Linked DNA regions of Homo sapiens: regions 1, 2, 4 and 5 are each linked to region 3. Evidence: promoter capture Hi-C in 16 types of primary human blood cells and fetal thymus (Javierre and others, 2016). All regions are on one chromosome and are shown on one strand. The core of a region is centred on a gene start or on the middle of the fragment in contact, and the rest is flanking DNA. Distances in the headings are between cores, read along the strand shown.

Region 1 (2,700 bases), core at 9-2,508, 410 kb before region 3:
GGAGGTGAGGGGCGCCTCTGCCCGGCCGCCCCTACTGGGAAGTGAGGAGCCCCTCTGCCCGGCCAGCCACCCCGTCCGGGAGGGAGGTGGGGGGGGTCAGCCCCCTGCCCCGCCAGCCGCCCCATCCGGGAGGGAGGTGAGGGGGTCAGCCCCCCCGCCCGGCCAGCCGCCCCGTCCGGGAGGGAGGTGGGGGGGTCAGCCCCCCGCCCGGCCAGCCGCCCCGTCCGGGAGGGAGGTGGGGGGGGTCAGCCCCCTGCCCGGCCAGCCGTCCCGTCCGGGATGTGAGGGGCGCCTCTGCCCGGCCGCCCCTACTGGGAAGTGAGGAGCGCCTCTGCCCGGCCACCACCCCGTCTGGGAGGTGTACCCAACAGCTCATTGAGAACGGGCCATGATGACAATGGCGGTTTTGTGGAATAGAAAGGGCGGAAAGGTGGGGAAAAGATTGAGAAATCGGATGGTTGCGGTGTCTGTGTGGAAAGAAGTAGACATGGGAGACTTTTCACTTTGTTCTGTACTAAGAAAAATTCTTATCCTGTTGATCTGTGACCTTACCCCCCAACCCTGTGCTCTCTGAAACATGTGCTGTGTCCACTCAGGGTTAAATGGATTAAGGGCGGTGCAAGATGTGCTTTGTTAAACAGATGCTTGAAGGCAGCATGCTCGTTAAGAGTCATCACCACTCCCTAATCTCAAGTACCCAGGGACACAAACACTGCGGAAGGCCTCAGGGTCCTCTGCCTAGGAAAACCAGAGACCTTTGTTCACTTGTTTATCTGCTGACCTTCCCTCCACTATAGTCCTATGACCCTGCCAAATCCCCCTCTGTGAGAAACACCCAAGAATGATCAATAAAAATAAAAATGAAAATTAAAAAAAAAAAAAAAGAAAGAAATACCTGAGACTGGGTAATTTAGAGGTTTAATTGGCTCACGGTTCTACAGGCTGTACAGGAAGCATAGCTCTGGCATCAGCTTCTAGCGAGGCCTCAGGAAGCTTACATTCATGGTGGAAGGCAAAGCAGGAGCAGCCGCTTCACATGGCAAAAGCAGGAGCAAGGTGGGGGAGGTGCAACATACCTTTTAAATGACCAGATCTCATGGGAACTTACTGTCATGAAGACAGCACCAAGCCATGAGGGATGTGCCCCCATGACCCAAACACCTCCTACCAGACCCCACTTCCAGCATTGGGAATTACATTTCAACATGGGATTTGCGTGGAAGAAAATATCCAAACTATATTAATGTCTTTTGCCCATTTTCTAACTGGAATTTTTTCTCTTACTGTTTAGTTTTGGGAGTTCTTTATATATTCTAAACACTAGTCCTTTGTCATATGTGGTTTGCAAATGTTTTCTTCCAGTCTGTATTTTCATGCTCTCAGCAGTCTTTTGCAAGGTAAAATTTGAAATTTTGATGTGTCAAATTGGTCAATTTTTCCTTTTGTAGTTTTGGGTTTGATTATCCAGCATTATGAACTGAATAGCCTCTATATCAGAGAGTCCCTCACTACAAAAAGCTTTCACGTTAAAACTTTCCAGCCAGATAAGGATATTCATTTTTGTTTTCTTCTTTCATTGTATTGACCTTTTAAAGATGTTTGTGGTTTTAGAGATTCCCTGTGGACATATAGAGACTTAAAGATTCCAAAGATTTGAACTGCAGGACAGCTATGACTTATTATCAGACTTTGTCCTTGACATTACAGACAAGATCTTCTCAAAGAAAGGGCTCTCTGCTAGAGGGCACATGGAGTTGATGGACATAAGGATAATTTCTGAACTCATATACAGGCTACACAAATTCATCAAAGACACAGCCATTGTGTAAAGAAAAAAAAATGTCACCATAATAGGAAGAGGTCAGAAAAAGGCTCAGATATCTCAAGTGCAATTACTATTCATTCATTTAAATGGAGTCCCTACTTATTCATTTAAAAAATAAAATAGGGAGAACTTAGGTGCAGTCCACGGGGGTTAGTCATTATGGGCAGTGCAGTGTGCTTTTTAGAATGTAGAGAAAGAAGGAACTTTTATATGGCGAAGCAATGAGTTTCCGGGTACTGGAGGTTTTCAATAACCAGACCCTGGACCACCACTTGGCAGGGATGTTGCAGAGGTGACTCAGGCACTACAAAGTAAGGTAGACTAGGTGAGCTTTGAGGATCTATCCAATCCTGAGTGCCTCTGGTGTCATGATCCTTCTCCAAGGTAAGATATAGAACTATCCTGGAGAGGAAGAACATAGGCAGGACAGATCCCAAGAAGCCTGAGCAAGGCACCAGGAAGGAGCCAGCTGACTGGAGAGGGCCTCCTTAGAATAAGTTGGATTTATGGAGCTGGGAAAGACTTTGGAGGAAGGCTATTCATGCTCTTGATAAAGAGATGGAGAAACTGTTAGTCAAATAAGCTGGGCTATAATGTATTAAAAAACAAAGTATGAAATCTCAGTGGTTTAACAGGAGGATAGTTTATTGCTCACTTGTGCAATTGCACATAGATGTTCCTGGTCAGTCAAGTGATGACTCAGTGATCCAGGTTCCTTCCATCTTGTCTGATGGCTCTTCAACACATGGCCTCTAAGGTCAATGTGAAAGGGAAACAGATTTTTGGAAAGGCACCCTGGATACTTAACATCCAAACCCAGAGCATGGCATGCAGCACTTTCCCTCACATCCATAAGCAGGATTGATCACACAGCC
Region 2 (2,700 bases), core at 76-2,575, 380 kb before region 3:
TTTTTTTTATTTTTAGAGACAGTGTCTCACCCTGTCACCCAGGCTGGAATGCAATGGCACTATTATAGTTCACTGCAGCCTCAGACTCCTGGGCACAAGCAGTCCTCCAGCCTTGGCCTCCGGAGTAGCTAGGATTACAGACACACACCAACATGCCAAGCTATTTTTTTTTTTAATTTTTGAGACAGGATCTCACTATATCACCTAGGCTGTTATAGTTGGAGAACTCCTTGCCTCAAACAATCTTCCTGAGTGGCTTCCCAAAGTTCTGAGATTGCAGGCATGAGCCACCATGCCCAACCTACTTTTTAAAATGTATTGAACAATTTGTATTTCCTTTTTGGCAAACTATCTGTTCTTATCTTTTCCAATTTTAAGTTAGGTTTTGGCATTTTTTTATAATTGAACTGAAAGAGTTAATTTTATGTTATAGTAGATGCCTATTGGCTTGCCTGCCTAATACCCCTTGTTAGGAATTGCCCTCCCCTCTATGCATGGTTGCAGAGGGGCAGCCATAGGATCACAATGAAATTCCCACCCCTACCTTCACCCTGACCACAGTCAATTGCTCCTGGATGGGCATCAGTCCAGACTGTCATTCACAGCCTCCCCAGGGACTTGAAATGAGAATCAACAGAATTAGGTTATTTCTTCCCCAGGTAACTGGACCAGTTGTGGTAAAACTTGAGTGCTGCTGGGGCCCTTTGTTCACCATGTGCTCTGAGAAACAGAGATGGGGTTCTATGGAGAGAGGCAAGTATGAAGTGGAAAACAGAGAAAGAGAATAACCTCAGATGCTTATAACACTCCAGTCCCTGGTTCTATGGTCCAGCTCCCTCTCCACCCTTAGCTAATTTCAACTTTAGTTCAAATGGTTCTCTGTTACTTGGAAATCAAAGTACTAATTAATAAGTATATTTATTCAATCATTTAACAATAAATACTGAATACCATATGCAGACATTGCCCTAGATGCTGGAAATATAGGAGTGATCAAAGTAGACTCTGTCTCAAACTTACATTCCAGAGGCAGGGAGACAAAAAACAGAGGAATGAGTAAACATATAGTGTCAGTGGGGATTAGTAGTATGGAGGAAAATAAAGCAAGTGCCAGGGAAGAGGCAGCCCTGCTGAAAAAGAAACAGAGAGGGTTGAAGAAAGTGGAGAGGGCCTTAAGGCAGAAGGAGCAGCAAAAACAAAGGCCCAGGAACAGGAGTGTGCCTGATGGGTTGCAGGTACAATGGTCAGTGTGGCTGGAGTGGAGTCATTAAGGAAAAGTGTAGAAAGAGACAAGGTCCAAGAGGTGGCCATAGGGCTTTGAGGCCACTGGAAAGACTTCGGCTTCTACTTGGAGTGTGATGAAAGCTACTGAAAGGATCTGAATAGAGGAGGGAGGTGATCTGCTGTGTGATAAGTAACCACTCTGTCTAAATCTCTTTGTCATGTATGTTGAGGAAGTGCCTCTATTTAATTGGGATGATGCTGGGTTTTGATCTACAGAAGCAAGACGTATGGAGGCTCCAGGAGTTCCCATCCTTCCCCTGCAATTGTAGAACTCAGAAGCCCCGTGAATCAGTTTTACTTTTTTCCATGCTCGAAATATAATATTTTCTTTCATGACCTCTTTCTTTGTTTATGCTTAGAATATTCCTCTCTATAAATATTAATATCTTAATCTACATTTTCAAATAAAAATATATATCTTATGTTTATACAGAAATTTTTTTCTGAACTTCAATGGATACAAAGATGTATGGAAATTGTGAAGTCAAAACACTGAAATTAAGTTTGGCTTAGTTGTTGTTTTCATATAATCTTTTGTTTAAAAATATCATCTATTGTTCACTCTGATGGTAGTTTCTTTTGCTGTGCAGAAGCTCTTTAGCTTAATTACATCCCATTTGTCAATTTTGGCTTTTGTTGCCATTGCTTTTGGTATTTTAGACATGAAGTCCTTGCCCATGCCTATGTGTAACCTGCACGTTGTGCGCATGTACCCTAAAACTTAAAGTATAAAAAACATATATATATCATCTATTGGCTGGGCGCGGTGGCTCATGCCTATAATCCCAGCACTTTGGGAGGCCAAGGTGGGTGGATCACCTGAGATCAGGAGTTCAAAACCAGCCTGGCTAACAATGGTGAAACCCTCGTCTCTACTAAAGATACAAAAATTAGCTTGGTGTGGTGGCATGCACCTGTAATCCCTGCTACTCAGGAGGCTGAGGCAGGAGAATAGCTGGAACCCCGGAGGCAGAGGTTGCCGTGAGCTGAGATCACCCCACTGCACTCCAACCTGGGTGACAGAGTAATACTCCATCTCAAAAAAAAAAAAAATCACCTACTGATAATCCTTTCTTCCATCATTGGATTGTGATATTTCATTCACATATATAGAGAGAGGTATATAGATTATCTGTTTTAGACTTATTCTTTTACATTAATTCCTATTTTGACTATTGTATTGATACCACAAAATTTTTAAAATTGAAGCTCTGTGCTACAATTTTACGTATAATAGTTCATTTTAACATATAGTAGAACAAGAAAAAAAATCTTGATGTTTCTCTTCAGTCTATTCTTCCAAGTGAATTAGAATCATGTTCTCAAATTCTAATAATAAAATAAAATTTCACTGGGATTTTTTATTGAGATGGACTTAATTTTGTAAATTAATTTGGAAATGATTTGTTTATCCTT
Region 3 (2,700 bases), core at 149-2,648:
GGCCATAAGACCCTCAATTCAGGAAGGGTCCTCCCCTCTACCCAGGAGGAAGGAAGGCTGCTCAGAGAGGCCAAGAAAAATCTGAACAGGCAGGCCTGGCTGAATTTCCTCATTCAACCTGTTAATATCAGGTTATACCCTTTTTATCCAATCACATTTGTTTACAGTTTTCCATGTTGTAATCATGTCTGCCCAATGAAGACTCCATAAAAGGCCCAAGAGGATGGGATACAAAGAGCCTTTGGACCGCTGAACTTGTGGAAGTTCTAAGAAAGGTAAACAGTAACTCATCCCTGTGCTGGGAGGGTGGTGCACCCCAGCTCCATGGGAAAGAACACTTCTGTGCTTGTGACCCTTTCAAACCTTGCCCTGTGTACCTTTTCATCTGGCTGTTGACTTGTATCCTTAAAAATATCCTTTAGAATATACTGGTAAATATAAATTAGTGTTCCCTAAGTTTTGTGAGCTGTTCTAACAAATTAATCAAGCCTAATCAAACTCAAGCGGTTTGTGGGAACCTGAACTTGAGGCCAGTCAGTCAGAAGTCCCAGAGGCTTGGACCTGTGATTGGTGCTTAAAGTGGGAGCAGTTTTGTGGGACTGAGCCTTCAGCCTGTGGGATCTGACTCTACCTACCTGGAGATAGCGTCAGAATTGAATTGGATTAGAAGATGCTTAGCTGGCGTTGGATGCAGAATTGATTGCTTGCTGGTTGATGGAGATAAATGCCCACATACATGGTCATGGAAATCTTTTGTGTTGCTGGTTGTGGTGTGAGAGCAGAGGAAAACAGTTTGTTTTATCAACACAATGAATAGTGATTATTTATTAAGCACCAGTAGGAGTCTAACCATGGGGTTAAAAAATAATTAGTTCAGGGAGATAACAAAACTACCAGGGTATATCATTTCTGAATTTTTCACTTATGTCATTCATTTCTTTAGTTTTGTTTTCCCATTCATAAAATGGAGGTAAAGATAGTTTAGTACCAAGGCTCCTCTAAGGATGAGTTTTCTCCCATTTAAATCACGATTCATATTGCGTGACTGGAAAGTAGAACATATGGTCCGTGACAAGGGTGTTGGCAATTTGTGGAAGAACAAAAAAGATTTGACAACAATTTCTAACTTGGTTCATCTCTGTAGTAAATTAAAAATTTTGCTCTGATTTGTGGGCAATGGGGGTGGAAGTAGGGTAGAAGGAAAGAAAAATTTGGTCCTTTTCCTGTCATCCCTTTCTTTAGGGTCCCCCTTTTGTTCCCCTTCGGGAAATGGAATAAAAAAAAAAACCCCTGCATTCGTCAGTAACTCCGGGTCAACCACAACTTAAAGACAGTAAGCAGGTCAATCGAAACAGGGGCAATGATTGCTATAAAACTAACAGGTACTCTCATTGATAGAACACAGGCATACACAGGAAGATACATTCACAGAAAGAGCTTCCTGCACAAAGTAAGCCACCAGCGCAACATGACAGTGAAGACCCTGCATGGCCCAGCCATGGTGAGTAGCAGCAATCATTCTGGTTTAAGGACTGTCATGCCTAGGATTTCAGAAAACAGAATCCTAAGGAATTAGGTTTGATTGGGGTCTTTTTGGAATTACTTCTTAAAAAACAGAGATGACTTTAATTTTGACTCCTGTCTGGTGGAGAAAAAGAAAAAAATAACTAGAAAAGTTATAATGGCATAAAAATGCAGCTCCTGGCCAGGCGTGGTGGCTCATGCCTGTAATCCCAGCACTTTAGGAGGCCAAGGCGGGCGGGTCACATGAGTTCAGGAGTTCGAGACCAGCCTGACCAACATAGCGAAACCCGGTCTCTACTAAAAATACAGAAATTAGGTCGAGCCTGGTGGCTCACGCCTGTAATCCCAGCACTTTGAGAGGCTGAGGTGGGTGGATCACTTGAGGTCAGGGGTTTGAGACCAGCCTGACTAACTTGAAACCCTGTCTCTACTAAAAATACAAAAATTAGCTGGGCATGGGTCAGTTGCCTGTAATCCCAGCTACTCGGGAGGCTGAGGCAGGAGAATGGCTTGAACCTGGGAGGCGGAGGTTGCAATGAGCCAAGATCACGCCACTGCACTCCATCCTGGGTGACATAGCGAGACTCTGTCTCAAAGAAAAAAAAATGCAGCTCCTCACCCAATGGCTTTTGCCCAGGTGGTGTTAGTGTGTGCCCAGGTGGTGTTAGTGTGTGCAGTCCTTGGCATCACAGACAACTAGCATGTTCTTTCCTGTGGCCATCCATTATAGAGTCAGGTTGGCCTGAAATTCTTATCTCATGGTGGGAGCTTGGCCAGCACTTTAGGGATTATGTACATATACATTTTAACCAAGGAAACTGGGGCCTCAAGAGGTTTAATGATTCCCCTGAGATTACAGGAGTGCCCTGGATGGAAGAAATGAAATCACCCAGTGTTGACTTTGGACAGCTCCTAGAGAAGGGAAATTTCCCATGTCTCTGATTGCTATTTATTTATTTTGTACCATCTCATTCTTCTTGGAGGAAAGAGAGATGTTAATGCAATGAAAATCTAGCCCCAGCAGGTCTGGAATCTTGCCTGACATTAGTCAGATAAGGCCTGAGAAGAATTTACTATAGAGGTACATGAAAACAGGGGTTAGGAAATCCCGCATCATATTATTGGCTTAGATAATTTCCTTTTTTTCTCCTTTTACAAGCCATACAACTTAAAAGA
Region 4 (2,700 bases), core at 116-2,615, 460 kb before region 3:
GTGAGCAACATAGAGGTTATTCTCCCAAACCCGGATGTAAAGACTGCTACACACCTGGGCTTTATGGTACAGTCTATTACTATTAGGCTACAAACCTGAACAGCATGTTACTGTAGTGAATACTGTAGGAAACTGTAATGCAATAATAAGTATTTGTGAGGCCGGTTGAGGTGGCTCACACCTGTAATTCCAGGACTTTGGGAGGTTGAGGTGGGTGGATCACCTGAGTTTGGGAGTTTGAGACCAGCCTGACCAACATGGAGAAACCCTGTCTCTACTAAAAATACAAAATTAGCTGGGCATGATGGCGCATTCCTGTAATCTCAGTTACTTGGGAGGCTGAGGCAGGAGAATTGCTTGAACCCGAGAGGCGGAGGTTGCAGTGAGCCAAGATCATGCCATTGCACTCCAGCCTGGGCAACAAGAGTGAAACTGTGTCTCAAAAAAAAAAAAAGTATTTGTGTATCTAAACATAGAAAAGTTACAGTAAAAATATAGTATTATAATCTCATTGTATAAGCAGTCCATGGTTGACTGAAATATTATGTAGCACATGACCGTAGCCAATAGCCACCTCCTGTGCCTGAAATTTCCTTGTGTTATGAGTCAGAGTAAATTTTCAAAAGTTTAATAATTATGCTCTAAGATTTACAATTTTGCTGAAATGGCTGTGCTTTGCTTGTCTTTGGAGCCCCTGCTGTACCTAACACAGCTCCTCACACAATTAGCCTTTAAGCAAAAGATAAAATTGAAGATTTTTAAAAGTTCAGGAGCGAAACCTCTTTGGTGTGATCCGGCGAAACTCAATCAAAACGTAGCAGAAAATTCTTCAGATAGTATCTAGTCTGAGAAATCTGGATGTACCCCATATAGTTTCATGTCCAGACCTAGAACTGTGAATGCCAGCAGGCTGGACTGCCTCCTATTTCCCACAACCCTACCTCTCCCTCCAACCTGCCACCCTCCCGCGGTCTGCCCACCTCCTCTCAGGGCTTACCCTGGTAAAGCCCTTGTTGGAATTGGAGATTGAGCTCTGCCTCTCTGATTCTTGGAGACTCGCCGGATCAGATAGCCTAAGTTACCTCAGAGTTCCTGACATGAAAAATTGTAGGAGAAACTGAAATCACAAATGTATGCATTTTTCATCACACTTCATAAATATTGTAAGTTGTAAGTAAATAGTGCTTAGGAAAAAATAAGTAAAGTAAAGCATGTTTAGGAAAAAAATGCTGCTTTTTGGAAAGCTTTGTTTTATACCTTGGTAATCACTGTCCATATTCTCATATTTGTTAACTTTGGAATATGATGACTTCCTTTTATAATAATTATTTACATAAAATTACACATTTACCAAGATGATAATATTGAAGATGTAGTAGGCTTGGTGAGAGGGCAACCTAGCTCTGGTTCTTCTACCATTTAGCTGAAAGACTTTAGGCAAGTCACTTGACCTCTCTAGGCTTCCTAAGCATCCAAAGGAAGCTTTGGTTAAGAAGAGCTCCAATATTATAATGTCAGCTGCTGCCTTTCCTTTTTTCCTGGTGAAAATATGAGAGAGAGAAAGAGACCCACCAACTCTCTGAAACATGGAAGTGTTTTGGAGCATCGAAGGTAGTGAAGAGAAAACATCTAGTACTGGGGATTGTAAAGCAGACCCAGAGAGAACTTATTTTGCAAAAACAAAGAGCAGAGGGGATAAAGACGAACTCCCTCCCCATATTCACACTCACACTCTACCCTTGCATACAGATTATTTTTAAATTTAGTAAGCATCCAATTTCTACTTCTGAATGCCACATTTCTGTTCATTAAGACATAGTCATAAGGAAAATAATATGTCTACTAAACATCTGCTCATTTTTAGAGAAAGGCCAATATGGGTGGCTGAAAATTTTTATCCGTATTTTCTAATTTTTCTACAATGAGTTTTAGCACTTCTGCAATAATATTGAAAATATTTTTAAATAAATAAGGGGAAGAGAGCTTTACATCCATCTTCTTTGTCTTATAAAAATGGCAGAATTCCCTGAGACTGAAATGTCTCTTACTCTTGTGTTTGAGAGTTGAAGTTAATGCTGGTCTTCAGGTATAGGAATGAGAGTGATAGGACATCAAGGTTTAACACTATTTAACATTAAGTACTTAGGAATTATGACCAGGAAGCTATGTATTAGCATCTTCTCTGAATATTTTTTATTACTCCAAATTGTAAAATTTAACATTTCAAATTATTTTTTATTGTAAAACGGATAGAATACAATCTGGGAAAAATAATATTTTCCAGTTTTTGTTGGGTTTTTACATCTCTATGCTAGAAAATATTAATAATACAGGAAAACTAATTGTATTTCAATTTTATGTTAAAATTATGCTATACAAAATGCACACATTTAATTGGTAAATGTATTTTAAAGCGAAAGTATCCAGAAGTTAATTGGTAACAATCTAACAATAACACTGATTAAAAACTCTTGTGAGTGGTAAGAAAAGATAGCTTGATTTATGTTTCTTTAAATATGCAACAAAGGATCTTTTAAGTTAATTTTGTTTTATTATTAGATTGTTACCAAGTAACTTCTAAGATTAGCTGCAACTTAATTCCTATGTCTAAGCCTCTTTGGCTTAAAGAGAAGGTATGTAATGAGACAATCAAATATTTGCCTGTTCTTTAGCACTAGGAATAAGGGGTAACAAACACCA
Region 5 (2,700 bases), core at 137-2,636, 390 kb before region 3:
TAGGAGGCGGAGCTTGCAGTGAGCTGAGATCGTGCCACTGCACTCCAGCCTGGGCAACAGAGCGAGACTCTGTTTCAAAAAAAAAAAAAAGTGGACCAACCAGCGCTCTGTAAAGTGGACCATTCAGCAGGACATGGGTGGGGCCAAATAAGGGAATAAAAGCTGGACACCCGAGCCAGCAGCGGCAACCCACTCAGGTCCCCTTCGACACTGTGAAAGTTTTGTTCTTTTGGTCTTCACAATAAATCTTGCTGCTGCTCACTCTTTGGGTCCGCACTACCTTTAAAAGCTGTAACACTCACTGCGAAGGTCTGTGGCTTCACTCCTGAAGTCACGAACCCACCAGAAGGAAAAAACTCCGGACACATCTGAACATCTGAACGAACAAATTTCGGACACACCATCTTTAAGAACTGTAAGACTCACGGCGAGGGTCCGCGGCTTCATTCTTGAAGTCAGCGAGACCAAGAACCCACCTGAAGGAACCAATTCTGGACATACTAGCACTTTGGGAGGCCGAGGCGGGCAGATCACCTGAGATTGGGAGTTCAAGACCAGCCTGACCAACATGGAGAAACCCCGCCTCTACTAAAAATACAAAACTAGCCGGCCATGGTGGCACATGCCTGTAATCCCAGCTACTCAGGAGGCTGAGGCAGTAGAATCACTTGAGCCTGGGAGGCAGAGGTTGCGGTGAGCTGGGATCGCACCATTGCACTCCAGCCTGGGCAGCAAGAGTGAAACTCCATCTCAAAAAAAAAGAAAAAAAAAAGAAAGAAAAACAAAAGAAAAGAAACTTATTCAGAGTCACATAGAAAACAATTGGTAAAAACAGTATTCTAACCTAAATCTGCCTCGTTCTCTCTATTCATTTATCTTCTAAAACATGATGCAGAGAAGTATTAGTATAAACTATCGCTGTAATTCTTTGCTTGGTGAAATAGCAAAAATATTGAGATTATTTTAGAATAAATAATTAGTCCTGGGTATCTTCTTCTAAAAGGCAATGTTTACTAGTGGAAAAGCCCTAAAAGATGACGCCCCGCTGATATTTAAAAATGACCAAATTTATTCAATAGATCTCAATGAGTCAAATTCTGATATTCCATTGAAATCCCTGAGAAGGCAAGAAAATGCTACCAAATCATGAGACCTGTCAAGGGGAGAAGAAAGGCCTTTCATTAGAAAGTGAACATTCAATCATTCTTGGCTCACAAACATGTAGGGAACTGTTGGGACCTATGTCTTAAGCAATTTATTACCAATAACTGAAGCTAGCAAGTGATTACTCAAATATGACTGAGTGCTCAGTACAGTATACGTTCTACTTTTTTGTGTGCTTGAAAACTTTCATAATAAAAAGATTTAGATTTTGTTTCTTTTTAATTTTCCTTATTTTTGTTGAAGTATAATTTTTATATAGTGAAACGACAGGTCTTAAATATACAGTTGGACAAGTTTCAACAGTTGCATACATCTGTATAACCCACATCCCATTAAGATATAGAATATTGCCATAACTCCCAAAATTTCCATCATGCCATCCCAGTCAATCTCTGTCCACTCCCTGCCCCACTTGAAACCACTGTCCTGATTTCTTTTGCAATAGATTGCATTTGCCTGTTTCAGAACTTCATATAAATGGAATCTTACAATATGTACCCTTTTGTGCCTGACTTCCTTTCACTCGGTATAGCAATACTGAGGCCTATCCATGTGTCGTATGTATCAGGAGCTATTGTGTTTTTGTTATCTCCGAGCAGAACTCTGCTGTATGTAAATATCCATGTTGTTTATTCATTCCCCTGCTGATGGACATTTGGGTTGTTTCTAGTTTGTTGCTATTTTTGTTGAGGCCAAGGCTGGGAAAAGAGAAAAGAGAAAAGAAAAACATTTTTTGAAATCTAATTTTCTTCTTGGAGTATTCAGTATTATGAATAAAGCTGCTATGGACATTCATGTACAAGTCTTCTCTGTTTCCAGATGTTTTCATTTCTCCTGAGTAAATACCTAGAAGTGCATTTGCCAGGTCATAGAGTAGGTGCATGTTTAACTTTATGAAAAACTGCCAGGCCAGTTTTCAAAGTGCTTGCACAATTCTACATCCCCACCGGTAATGGATGAGAGTGCTCATTGCTCCACATCCTTGCCCATATTTGTTGCTATGAGTAGTGGTATCTCATTGTGCTTTAATTTTCATTTCGTTGATGCCTAGTGATTTTGAGTGCTTTTTCATGTGCTTATTGGCACATCTTCCTTTGTGAAGTGCATGTTCAACTCTTTTGCCCACTTCGTTTTTTAACTTAAAAATCATATAATCTCAACACCCAGCCATAACCTTCATTAACGTCTTGGACTTTTTCTGTGTATTTACTTATTTATGCCAATATATTTATTACAAAAAAGGGTTCATTTTGTAACCTTTTTCATTTAACAATTCAATTGGTCATGAACATCTTTCCCTATCACTAAATATTCTTCTGTGCCATCATTTTTAAAAACATGAGTGTTCATTGTAGCTTTATTCACAATTACCCAAACTGGAAACTACCCAAATGCCTTTCACTTGGTGAGTGGATAAACAAAATGTACTGTCTAGCTGTACAATGGAATGCTACTTAGCAATGAAAAGGAGACAAACTACTGATAAATGCAACATGCATGCAAAACCATTCTGACGAGTGAAAGAAGCCAGACATA

Evidence for each region. Contacts are between HindIII fragments. The CHiCAGO score rates a contact against its expected background, and 5 or more counts as called.
Region 1: a contact is called between a fragment that was not itself captured here and the fragment with the promoter of IL17F in region 3, in 3 of 17 cell types (naive CD8 T cells, activated CD4 T cells and total CD4 T cells). The highest score is 5.9, in naive CD8 T cells.
Region 2: a fragment that was not itself captured here is called in contact with the fragment with the promoter of IL17F in region 3 in 3 of 17 cell types (total CD4 T cells, naive CD8 T cells and total CD8 T cells); the score reaches 5.9 in total CD4 T cells.
Region 4: a fragment that was not itself captured here is called in contact with the fragment with the promoter of IL17F in region 3 in 6 of 17 cell types (activated CD4 T cells, total B cells, non-activated CD4 T cells and 3 more); the score reaches 6.9 in activated CD4 T cells.
Region 5: a fragment that was not itself captured here is called in contact with the fragment with the promoter of IL17F in region 3 in 1 of 17 cell types (naive CD8 T cells); the score reaches 5.3 in naive CD8 T cells.

Annotation. Positions count from the first base shown.
Region 1 is chr6:52,653,159-52,655,858 of GRCh38, reverse strand. No RefSeq gene overlaps it. Among named protein-coding and RNA genes, the nearest start is that of TMEM14A, 17 kb to the left of the region's middle. The HindIII fragment of the contact is 525 bases long and covers 996-1,520 here.
Region 2 is chr6:52,618,883-52,621,582 of GRCh38, reverse strand. No RefSeq gene overlaps it. Among named protein-coding and RNA genes, the nearest start is that of TRAM2-AS1, 43 kb to the right of the region's middle. The HindIII fragment of the contact is 3,333 bases long and covers 1-2,700 here.
Region 3 is chr6:52,243,198-52,245,897 of GRCh38, reverse strand. It overlaps IL17F (interleukin 17F), which reads left to right and starts at 1,398. Exons shown (of 3, transcript NM_052872.4): 1 at 1,398-1,501. The coding sequence starts at 1,469. The HindIII fragment of the contact is 13,260 bases long and covers 1-2,700 here.
Region 4 is chr6:52,698,844-52,701,543 of GRCh38, reverse strand. No RefSeq gene overlaps it. Among named protein-coding and RNA genes, the nearest start is that of TMEM14A, 29 kb to the right of the region's middle. The HindIII fragment of the contact is 238 bases long and covers 1,247-1,484 here.
Region 5 is chr6:52,636,398-52,639,097 of GRCh38, reverse strand. No RefSeq gene overlaps it. Among named protein-coding and RNA genes, the nearest start is that of TMEM14A, 33 kb to the left of the region's middle. The HindIII fragment of the contact is 6,545 bases long and covers 1-2,700 here.